3 separate regions of the Homo sapiens genome follow, and all the other regions are linked to region 3. The links are contacts of gene promoters, found by promoter capture Hi-C in blood cells and fetal thymus (Javierre and others, 2016). All regions are on one chromosome and are shown on one strand. The core of a region is centred on a gene start or on the middle of the fragment in contact, and the rest is flanking DNA. Distances in the headings are between cores, read along the strand shown.

The links. The method cuts DNA at HindIII sites, captures the fragments that hold promoters and counts their contacts. A CHiCAGO score of 5 or more calls a contact.
Region 1: a contact is called between a fragment that was not itself captured here and the fragment with the promoter of LITAF in region 3, in 5 of 17 cell types (neutrophils, monocytes, total CD8 T cells and 2 more). The highest score is 12.4, in neutrophils.
Region 2: a fragment that was not itself captured here is called in contact with the fragment with the promoter of LITAF in region 3 in 5 of 17 cell types (neutrophils, monocytes, total CD4 T cells and 2 more); the score reaches 8.3 in neutrophils.

Annotation. Positions count from the first base shown.
Region 1 is chr16:11,702,768-11,705,936 of GRCh38, reverse strand. The region is part of intron 5 of TXNDC11 (thioredoxin domain containing 11); the gene reads left to right. Among named protein-coding and RNA genes, the nearest start is that of SNN, 36 kb to the right of the region's middle. The HindIII fragment of the contact is 4,582 bases long and covers 1-3,169 here.
Region 2 is chr16:11,684,226-11,687,344 of GRCh38, reverse strand. It overlaps TXNDC11 (thioredoxin domain containing 11), which reads left to right. Exons shown (of 12, transcript NM_015914.7): 11 at 3,100-3,119. Among named protein-coding and RNA genes, the nearest start is that of SNN, 17 kb to the right of the region's middle. The HindIII fragment of the contact is 6,503 bases long and covers 1-3,119 here.
Region 3 is chr16:11,584,880-11,588,326 of GRCh38, reverse strand. It overlaps LITAF (lipopolysaccharide induced TNF factor), which reads left to right and starts at 1,408. Exons shown (of 4, transcript NM_001136472.2): 1 at 1,408-1,441. RefSeq lists silencers at 1,055-1,534, 1,565-1,644 and an enhancer at 2,545-2,654. The HindIII fragment of the contact is 18,010 bases long and covers 1-3,447 here.

The sequences.
Region 1 (3,169 bases), core at 168-2,667, 120 kb before region 3:
GAAAGCCCTGGAGCTCTGCTTATCAGAAAACACTCTGGATAAGGAGATGTGACATGCTGGTTTTTTGTGTCATCTTTACGCTATAAACTTCCTCTGCTAATCTAAGTATTCTTTGTTCACGTGAGACTGCAAATTTAAGCTGCTGCTTCTAGCAAGATTTCCACCATATGCTAGAACTTAAATAGAAGCGTGTTTTTTGTACATTTCTGTTATGTGTGAAAAATAAAGTTTTGAAATTATAATATGTTTGAGCATGTTAGAATTTGTTCTGTATGGGCAGACTGTCCATTCTTATTAAGGCAGTTAAACAGGTTTTTGAATGGCCCCTTTTAACTTTTGGGTCAGGCTGTCACTTCTTATTTCTCTGCTCTAATAAATCACGATGGTGACTTTGGCAGGCTATCAAATGAATTTCCTTACTGGCTGCTTTTCCTTCTCTTCTTTTAACTGTGACTGTCCTCCAAGATCAGCTGCTTCTGGAGAGTGGTGTTTTGGTCCTACTAAATCACGTCCTCTCTTTGGTCTGTTTCTTCTGACAGCTTTGGGATCTGGACTTATATGCCATGCCCTTTAAACAAAGTTTTTAAAAATCTTCAACTAATTCTATACTTAGAGAAAAGTTGCAAAAATAAAACAGAGAGTTCCATAATTGCCTGTCTTTAGCCAGTTTCCCCCATTGTTAACATCTTACATAACCAATTGTTAGGTGGTTTTGTACAAACTAAGAAGTCAATGTTAGAGTTGGGTGTGGTGGCTCACACCTGTAATCTCAGCACTTTGGGAGGCTGAGGCCAGGTGGATCACTTGAGGTTAGGAGTTCGAGATCATCCTGGCCAACATGGTGAAACCTTGTCTCTACTAAAAATACAGAAAAATTAGCTGGACATGGGGGTGCATGCCTATAATCCCAGCTACTCGGGAGGCTGAGGCAGGAGAATCACTTAAGGTTGCAGTGAGCCGAGATGCACCACTGTACTCCAGCCTGGGCGACAGAACAAGAATCTGTCTCAAAAAAAAAAAAGAAAGAAAAAGAAGTTAACATTGGTTCGGTCCTATTCACTAAACTGCAGACCTCATTTGAATTGTCTCCATGTTTCCACTAGTGTCTGTTTTTGTTTCAGGATCCAGTCTGGGATCCCATATCGCAATGTGTTGGTTTTTTTCTCAGTTTCCTTCAACCTATGACAAATCCTCTGTCTTTCCTTGTCCTTTATAACCTTGACACTTCTGAAGAATATTTCTCAGGTATTTTGTAGAAAATTGCTCAATTTTGTCTGTTTTCTTGTGACTGGAATAGGTCATGTCTTTTGACAGCAATACCATAGAAATAGGTACTTCTCAGCACTTCTTATCAGGGGGTTCATATGATGTCAGTGTGTCTCCTACTGGTGACATTAACTTTGATCAGTTGGTTAAAGTAGTGTCTGCTGTGTTTCTCCACTGAAAAGTTACTATCTCTTCCTTTGTAATTAATAAATAAATACCTTGGGGGAAGATCATTTGACACTATGTAAATATATCCTCAAACTTCTGCTCATGAATTTTAGCCTCCATCAGTGGATCTTGCCTGCAACAATTACTCTGGTGTTCAAATGGTTATTTTCTGTTTCTTTCATTCTTTTTTCATTATTAGTGGAATTCTCCCTTAAAGAAGAGCTGACTGTTCTCATTAATATTATTATGGAGTCATGGGTATTTATCTTATTCTGTGTACTGTCATTGTTTATTTTGTTGCTCAAATTGTTCCAACTTTGGCTACTAGGAGGGCTTCAGCTTGGCTCCTGGGTCCTTTGGACAAACCCCCATCCTTTTATGAGCACTTCTTTACTTCATTTATTTTTTTTGAGACGGAGTTTCACTCTTGTCACCCAGGCTGGAGTGCAATGGCAAAATCTCGGCTCACTGCAACCTGCACCTCCCGGGTTCAAGCAATTCTGCTGCCTCAGCCTCCCAGATAGCTGGAATTACAGGTGCGTGCCACCACATCCGGCTAATTCTTGTATTTTTAGTAGAGATGGGGTTTCACTATGTTGGCCAGGCTGGTCTCAAACTCATGACCTCAGGTGATCCACCCGCCTTGGCCTCCCAAAGTGCTGGGATTACAGGCGTGAGCCACCATGCCCAGCCCACTTCTTTACTTCTGATACAAGATATTTCAGGCTTATCTTGTACTTTCTTCACCCCAGCTCTGGAATCAACCTCTTCTCCAAGGGCCCTGGTTTCTTTTACTGGAGAATGGCATTTAGAAACCAAGATCTACGTGCTAGGTATGCTCTTTGGTATTAGGATGTCATTACTTCTAGGTCTTCTCAGTAGATAGAACTAGGAAGTGTATTATACCCACACATGTGCATATATCTGTATTTCTCTATCCATCCCCTCTCTCTCCCTCTGTGTGTGTGTGTGTGTGTGTGTGTGTGTGTGTGTATCAAAAGCCTTAAGTTTATACTCATTCTCTCTGATTTCAATTTAACATCACAGGGTTTATTTTAGCCTTCTCTTATTAATATATAACTTCTTACTGCAACAGTGAGAGTCCTGGCTGTAATTATGTATAATGTACTTACCACAAAGAAGTAAATAAGTTCATAGTTTCAGAATTGCTAACTTATACCTCTTTAAGAAACACATTTACTACCTAGATTTACAGCATTTATGTACAGTTCTTTTTGCCTTTAGTTTTACAGCATCCAGTCAAGATACTGTTTTCCAGTTACTTAGGTTCTTTCTTCCTGTCCCATTCACCATGGTGTTACCCGTTTGCAATAGTTAGGGTTATTTGTACGTGCTGTATTCCACGTTGGGTTTGCCACATCTCGCTTGGTTTTAACTAATTGTTTAATTTTGGAGTGTGTGAAGGGTGTGTGATACATCACTGTGGCCCTAGGAGTCAGATACAAAAAGGCCTACTCAGTGCCAGGCCTCCTCAGCCCTGCCTTCCCGTTTCCAGTCCCCTTTCCCCAGCCTGGCTTATTTGTCCTGTATTTCTTTTGTTTTGTGCCATTTTACACTCATCAGATTTGTATGAAAAATTATTGACTCTGGCAGTAGGGACATACTCACTCCGACCTCATCCTTGTCGGCCACTCCTTACCTGAGGGAGAGAGGACCACACCACTGAAAGATGGGGTCATGGGATAAAACTGGAAACTTTATGGGTTTAACACCT
Region 2 (3,119 bases), core at 537-3,036, 99 kb before region 3:
AGTCTTTAGATGGGGTAGTAAGCAGTTTTGGGTGAGGAAAACTGTTCACATTTAACCCCCCACCTCCCCCAAAACCCTACAGATAGATAAGAGTTAAATATAAAAAAATCAAAACAAAAAATAGGATTTGCTGATTCCTCTGGGAGATGGAAACTTTCCAAAGTGGAAGCAGTTGGAAAAATAAAGAGAGAAAAATGGACAGATTCCACTAGAAATACGTGCAGTGAAAACAGGGAAAGCAGACAAAAAGGGGGACCATTAATATATTTTCCAGTGTCTCTGTGTCACCTGTTATATGCACTGTAAGTAATAATTAGAATCAAATCTGAGGAGTTACTATGTTGGGAGAGTTTTTGATATACATATTACCTGACTGAGTCCTTGCGACGCTTAGTGAAGGCACTCTAGTTAAAAAAAGAAAGTGCTATTTGTGTTGAGGAGGAAACTGAGACATAGAAAGATTCGACAAGTTGCCCAGAGTTTCAAGCTGCAAATGAGGGGCCAGGATTAAATCAGGCATTCATACTCCAGCCTCCCCGGAAATTAAAATGGTTTAGAAGATGGCTGAGACCGATTCCATTCTGAACAAAGGATGTGAGCAGGTTTTTCTTTTAAGAGGAGAGAGTAAATAAACAAGTGGGGAAATTATAACCTAATAAATGTAAATTAAAACAGTAACAAAGTATCATTTAACATATTAAAGTAATCAGTGGTTTTAAGTGACAGAATCTTGTGTTGATAAAATAAAATGGAAACTGCAGTCAGATGTATCTAATGGAATGAGTACATTGCCATAACTCTTTTGGAAAGCATTTTGGCAACATTTACAAGAAATCAACAAAAACAGTTAACACATTTTTGACCCAGTTAATTTTACTTTGGAGAAGTAATGGAATAGGAATTCCGAAGAAGCATGAGCTCATCATTATAGCATTGTTTACATCCACCAGGAGATGAATGTTTAAGTAAATTATGGCTGGGCATTTAATGGAATTTTTATCCTTCAACAGTGCTTTTCATACAGTTAATGGAAAAGAACAGAGTATGAAATATATGACAACTCTTCTTAAAAATATGTAAGGATATAGGCGAGGTGCAGTGGCTCATGCCTGTAATCCCAGCATGTTGGGAGGCCGAGGTGGGCGGATCACCTGAGGCCAGGAGTTCGAGACCAGCCTGGCCAACATAGTGAAAACCTGTCTCTACTAAAAATAAAAAATTAGCCAAGTGTGGCGGCACGTGCCTGTAGTCCCAACTACTCAGGAGGCTGAGGCAGGAGAATCACTTGAATCCAGCAGCCGGAGGTTACAGGGAGCTGAGATTGCACCACTGCATTCCAGCCTGGGCGACAGAGCAAGACTGTGTCTCAGAAAAAAAAAAGTAAGCATATAGACCAAGCCTGCAGCCTGCATAAGAAAGGGGGGCCTTATTTAGCCCAATGGAATTCTGAGTGGATTTTTACAATGTTTTAATTTTATAGTTTGCTTTCTTTGAAGTAAGAATCAAGTGAGAAAAAGCATTTAATTATGGAATATAGTGTTCACTCCCACTTGTTTAGAAAGGAACACTAATGTTTTAGGTAGGCTGGCACAGGTGAGGCAGGAGTGCTGTTTTGTTAGTAAACTTTTGGTAAATGGTTTTCATTTGGTTATGCCTTTTGTTGCTGTTGTTGTTTTTTGTTTTTGTTTTTTTTTTTGAGATGGAGTCTTGCTCTGTTGCCCAGGCTGGAGTGCAGAGGTGCAATCTCAGCTCACTATAAGCTCCGCCTCCCGGGTTCACGCCATTCTCCTGCCTCAGCCTCCCGAGTAGCTGGGACTACAGGCGCCCGCCATTATGCCCAGCTAATTTTTTGTATTTTTAGTAGAGACGGGTGGCGTTTCACCGCGTTAGCCAGGATGGTCTCGATCACCTGACCTCGTGATCTGCCTGCCTCGGCCTCCTAAAGTGCTGGGATTACAGACGTGAGCCACCACGCCCGGCGTTGTTGTTTTTTTGAGACAGGGTCTCACTCTGTTGCCCAGGCTGGAATGCAGTGGTGCAATCACAGCTCACTGCAGCCCCAACCTCCCAGGTTCAGGTGATTCTCCCACCTTCCCAAGTAGCTGGGACTACAGGCATGTGCCAGAATACCCGGCCAATTTTTTGTAGAGACAGGGTTTCCCCATGTTGCCCAGGCTAGTCTCGAACTCCTGGGCTCAAACAGTCCACCCACCTCGGCCTCCCAAAGTGTTGGATTTACAGGCGTGAGCCCCTGTGCTCAGCCTGGTTGTGCCATTTTTTGAAAAGCAAATTTCATCCTTTTGGACACATACATGACACTTACCGCACCCTCACTCCCCCCAGTTATGCTTTCTAAAAACTTCTGTCAAGGTAAAGATTGAAAACATGTTCATCTTTTGTGTGCACTGTTTATGAATAGTAGCTGAATAGCCCCTCCGCAAGGAGGATGCAGCCCCTTCCATAAAGGATGCTGTTGTGGCTCCATGTCTGCTTAGCCCGAGTGTGGGCGCCCAGCTGTGTGCCCAGCTCTGTGCCAGCTGCCCGGGGCAGGCCTCTAGAGCAGTTGCGGTTAGCTCCCACAGTGATTGAGCACAGGCTGGGTGAGTTAGTACAGATGTCATTTTCTGTATTAGAAAATTAATGTCAAATCTGCTAAGAAAATAGGCTGTTTTTGGTCTCTATCCAGATTTACAACATAAAGAGGGTATAATTTTCCATCTTCAGAGGGGCTTGATGTATTTTGCTCAATGATTTCCTTTCTTTTCCCAGAGCTATTCAGGGATTAAAATACTTGGCTAGATCCTGTCAGGTGAGGAGTGAATGACTCCTCAGGTGTCAGTGCGGCATTTTCTGCAAGTTCATTTTTACTTTCAGGACATCACATTGCCACTCAGTGGAAAGCGTCCACGTAGTAGAATGTTGTATGTCTTGGAAGTATCAGCGCCCAGCTCACACCTGGTAGTACATTCATCGAGAAGGGACTAGCCCAATGTGGGGTGTAAAAAATGCACCAGGTTCTTGAAGTTATCTGAGAAGGTTCTTTCAAGTTGGTGTTTCTTGGGCTGATCATCTGCCATTTCTGTTCTTTCCCTTTACCAGGATTGACGTGTCTCAGAATG
Region 3 (3,447 bases), core at 159-2,658:
GATGGAGTCTCACTATGTTGTCCAGCCTGGCCTTGAACTCCTGGGCTCAAGAGATCCTCTGGCCATGGCCTCCCAAAGTCCTGAGACTATAGGCAAGAGCCACTGCACCCGCCCCCTTCATATTTTAAAAGCAGTAAAATGTTGCCCACACTAATAACATCTACATGGGAACCTCCTATGCTTGGGAGAACTTTGAAATCCCTTCCAACTTGGTAACTCGTCCACGGCTGAGGGTGGCCCGTCAGTGGACATGGCGCAAGGTGGCAAGAACTTGGGGCTGGGGACACTTTGCTGAGGGACCCGGGACAAGCCACACTCCCTATCTGGGCCTCACTATCTTTAGGACCTCGGGTAAAGGCATGGGATTTGGGCACCGGAGGGTTCTAAGATCCAGGTCTTTGCCAGCATGGGGCTCGGAAGCTCCCTGTCCAAATGGCGTTTGTTTGTGGATGGCCACATCATGGTTCTGCCCATCTCCTGACTCTGTGTACTCTGAAAGCCAGGCATGCTTCTTAATTCCCTCTAATGATTTCCCAGAGAGCCTGCTGGATCCAGGCTGCTGCTGTTATCACTGCAGCCGGCCGATGGGGCTCCAAGCAGACGGGCAGATGGCACCCATTTAGGGGCGGATGTGAAATGGGGCTACTGATTTCCAGAGCTTGCTTTCAGTGATGGCTGAGAAAGGCCTACCTGGCGGCACGGACCACCCTGGGGGCACAAAGCGGACAGGCAGCTGATAAGCCTTACCTAATACCTATCCTGTGCTAAAAACTTTACCATCTTCCCAGTTCACTCCCAGTCGGTCTTAGGAGACAGGACCGCTATTGTGCCCATTTTGCAGACAGGAAGCCGAGCTCAGAGAGGATGGGTAACATGCCCGAAGGCACAGAGAGTGTCTTGGTCTGTCCGGACGCGTCTGTAGAGTTACAGGAAGAGAAGGGCCGCCCTCCAGAGGGCCGGGAGCGCCCCAGCGCGGGTCCGGGGTCGAGGTTGGTGGTCCCGCCGCCTGGAAGTGGTGGAGCGGCGCGGGGAGGGGGGAAAGTGGGGAGAGCCGCGAGCGGCAAATCAGGAGGGAGGGCCAGGCTGTCGGGGGCGGACGGGTGGGGCTGGCACCGAGAGGCAGGGGCAGGATAGGAGAGTGGGGGAGACACCAGGTCCGCGCCAGGCGTCTCGGGGGTAAGCCTGGGAAGCTCTGGGGTGGCGAGCGAGCCGGGTGTGGGATGGAGCCTGGGGGCGATCAGAGTGAGGCGGGGAACCGGCGGTGGTCTCGCCTGGGGCCCAGGTGCGGGCCGCGGGGGCGGGAGAAGCCGGAAGCCCAAGCCGGCCGCGCTCCGCCCCGGCGGGTCCAGCCCCCGCCCCCGTCCCCGCCGCCCGGCCCTTTTCTCGGGGCGCCCGAGAGGCCAGCTCAGACCTCCCGGCTCGACAGGCGGCGCGGGCGGCGGTGAGTGCGGCGCGGGGACGCCGGGGCGCGGGGACCAGCGGGAGACAGCGGGGGGCCGGTGGCGCCAGCACCTGCTGGGGGCCCCGGGCACTGAGCCCTTGGCTGGGGCCTCCTGGGATGCCAGGGGGCGCGGGTCGGGTCGCGGGCATCGAGGCGCGGCGGAGGGCGTGGGGGCCCGGCCGGGGCGGGGTCCGGCCTCCCAGCGCTGGTCCCGGCCGCGTCTCCGGTTGGGTTCAGCTCCTGCGTCCCAGAGTGGCCCGATCGCGCGTGGCGGGGTCGTCCGGCCCCCACCCGAACGAGCGCCCTTCGCGGCCCGCCGCGTCCCCCTCCCCGGAGAGGACGGCCCCTGGGCTTTTTAGAAAAAGGCGCGATTCTCTCTAGTGACTCAGGTTGAGATTTCCAGAAATATCCCCCGGGGGTTCAGAAACAAAACCAAAACAAACAAAAAAACCCCAACGAATTCCCAAATGCTATTTGCCAAACATTTGACTTCTAGGGGCGCGGGTACCCGCGTTTCTCTCCCTGCCCCCGCGACTTCGCGCAAGATCCGGGAAGGACACCCGAGGCCCCTGGGAGACCCTGGGGAGGTGAAAATCAGAGAGCGAAGCGGGCCGTGGCCCCTAGGCCTGACCCCTCCCCGCGGGGTAAGGCGGGCACCCCGCGAGCGCAGGGGTCCTCTTACTGCTGATGGCACCCAGCTCTGGGCCCAGACGCCGCTCACCGTCCACCGCCGGTGCTGGGTAGGTGCTGGTGGGACCAGCTGGTGACTGGTGGCAGAAGTGGATCTCGCCCCTCCCTGCCAAGCTAGGCAAATACCCTCCCCGCTCTGGTTTGCAGGTCACTGTGGATAGGTGGTCAGTTGGTGGTGTGCCCGAAGCTCTTCGGGGTCAGGGAGAGGAGGTGATAGGGGAAAGGTGTATGTTCTGGAAGGGCCAGTCATGCTTCAGGGACCAGGCTAGTTGGACCTTCACTGGTTTTCTACTTCCCGACAGTGGAGCTGATGTCACTGGCTGTTGGACTGAGCAGTGGTCACTGGGAAATCTACAGTTTGTGGAAGCCACGGGGTCTTCCAAGCTCCTACCAGTCTTCCCAAAGAGGATGCCTCCCTCCCCTTGGCCTGGTGCACTGGTGCTGGTTCAAAGACTGTCTGAAGCCCAGCTTGGGGTCCTCTTTAGGAAAGCCATGATTTGCCTTAATGTGTGCTTGGCTGCTTCATCTGCCCTCTCACCCCCTGCCTTCTCAGAGTGACTCTTTTTAGGACTTCCTATTTAGGACTAACCCAGATGCCTACAGAGAGAAGTGCAGGCTGGTATCTGGAATTCCACCAGTGTTTTGGTTTTATCAGTTGGAGCAGGATCTAGATGGCGTGTGACTTGCTTTACCTGGCATAGAGTAACACCCATATTGCACTTGGCTTTCTTCTCCACCAGCCCTTGCTCTGGGAACTAAATGTGCACCAAACTCTCTAAGAAACATTTAATTGTAATCTACCATGAGGGAGGCCCATCTCCCTCTTTCCTGTTACTTTAAGGCATGAATAATTGATGCATTTATTCACATTTGAGAAAGTATCTTGTAATGTTTTCACAGATTAAGTGACTGGGTGATTGATCTAAGACGTAGGATCAATTTCTTTCTTTTTTTTTTTTTTTTTTGAGACAGAGTCTCACTGTCGCCTAGGCTGGAGTGCAGTGGTGCGATCTCGGCTCACTGCAACCTCTAACCCTCCCCACCCCACCTCAACCCCCTGCCTGAGTTCAAGCAATTCTAGTGTCTCAACCTCCCAAGTAGCGGGGATTACAGTTGGGTGCCACCATGCTTAGGTAATTTTTGCATTTTTAGTAGAGACAGAGTTTTGCCATGTTGGCCAGGCTGTTTTCGAACTTCTGACCTCTAGTGATCCACCTGCCTTGGCCTCCCAAAATGCTGGGATTACAGGTGTGAACTACCTCACCCGGCCCATTTCTTAAGTCTCTAAAATAGTAGATTGAAGTGTAATTCACTGT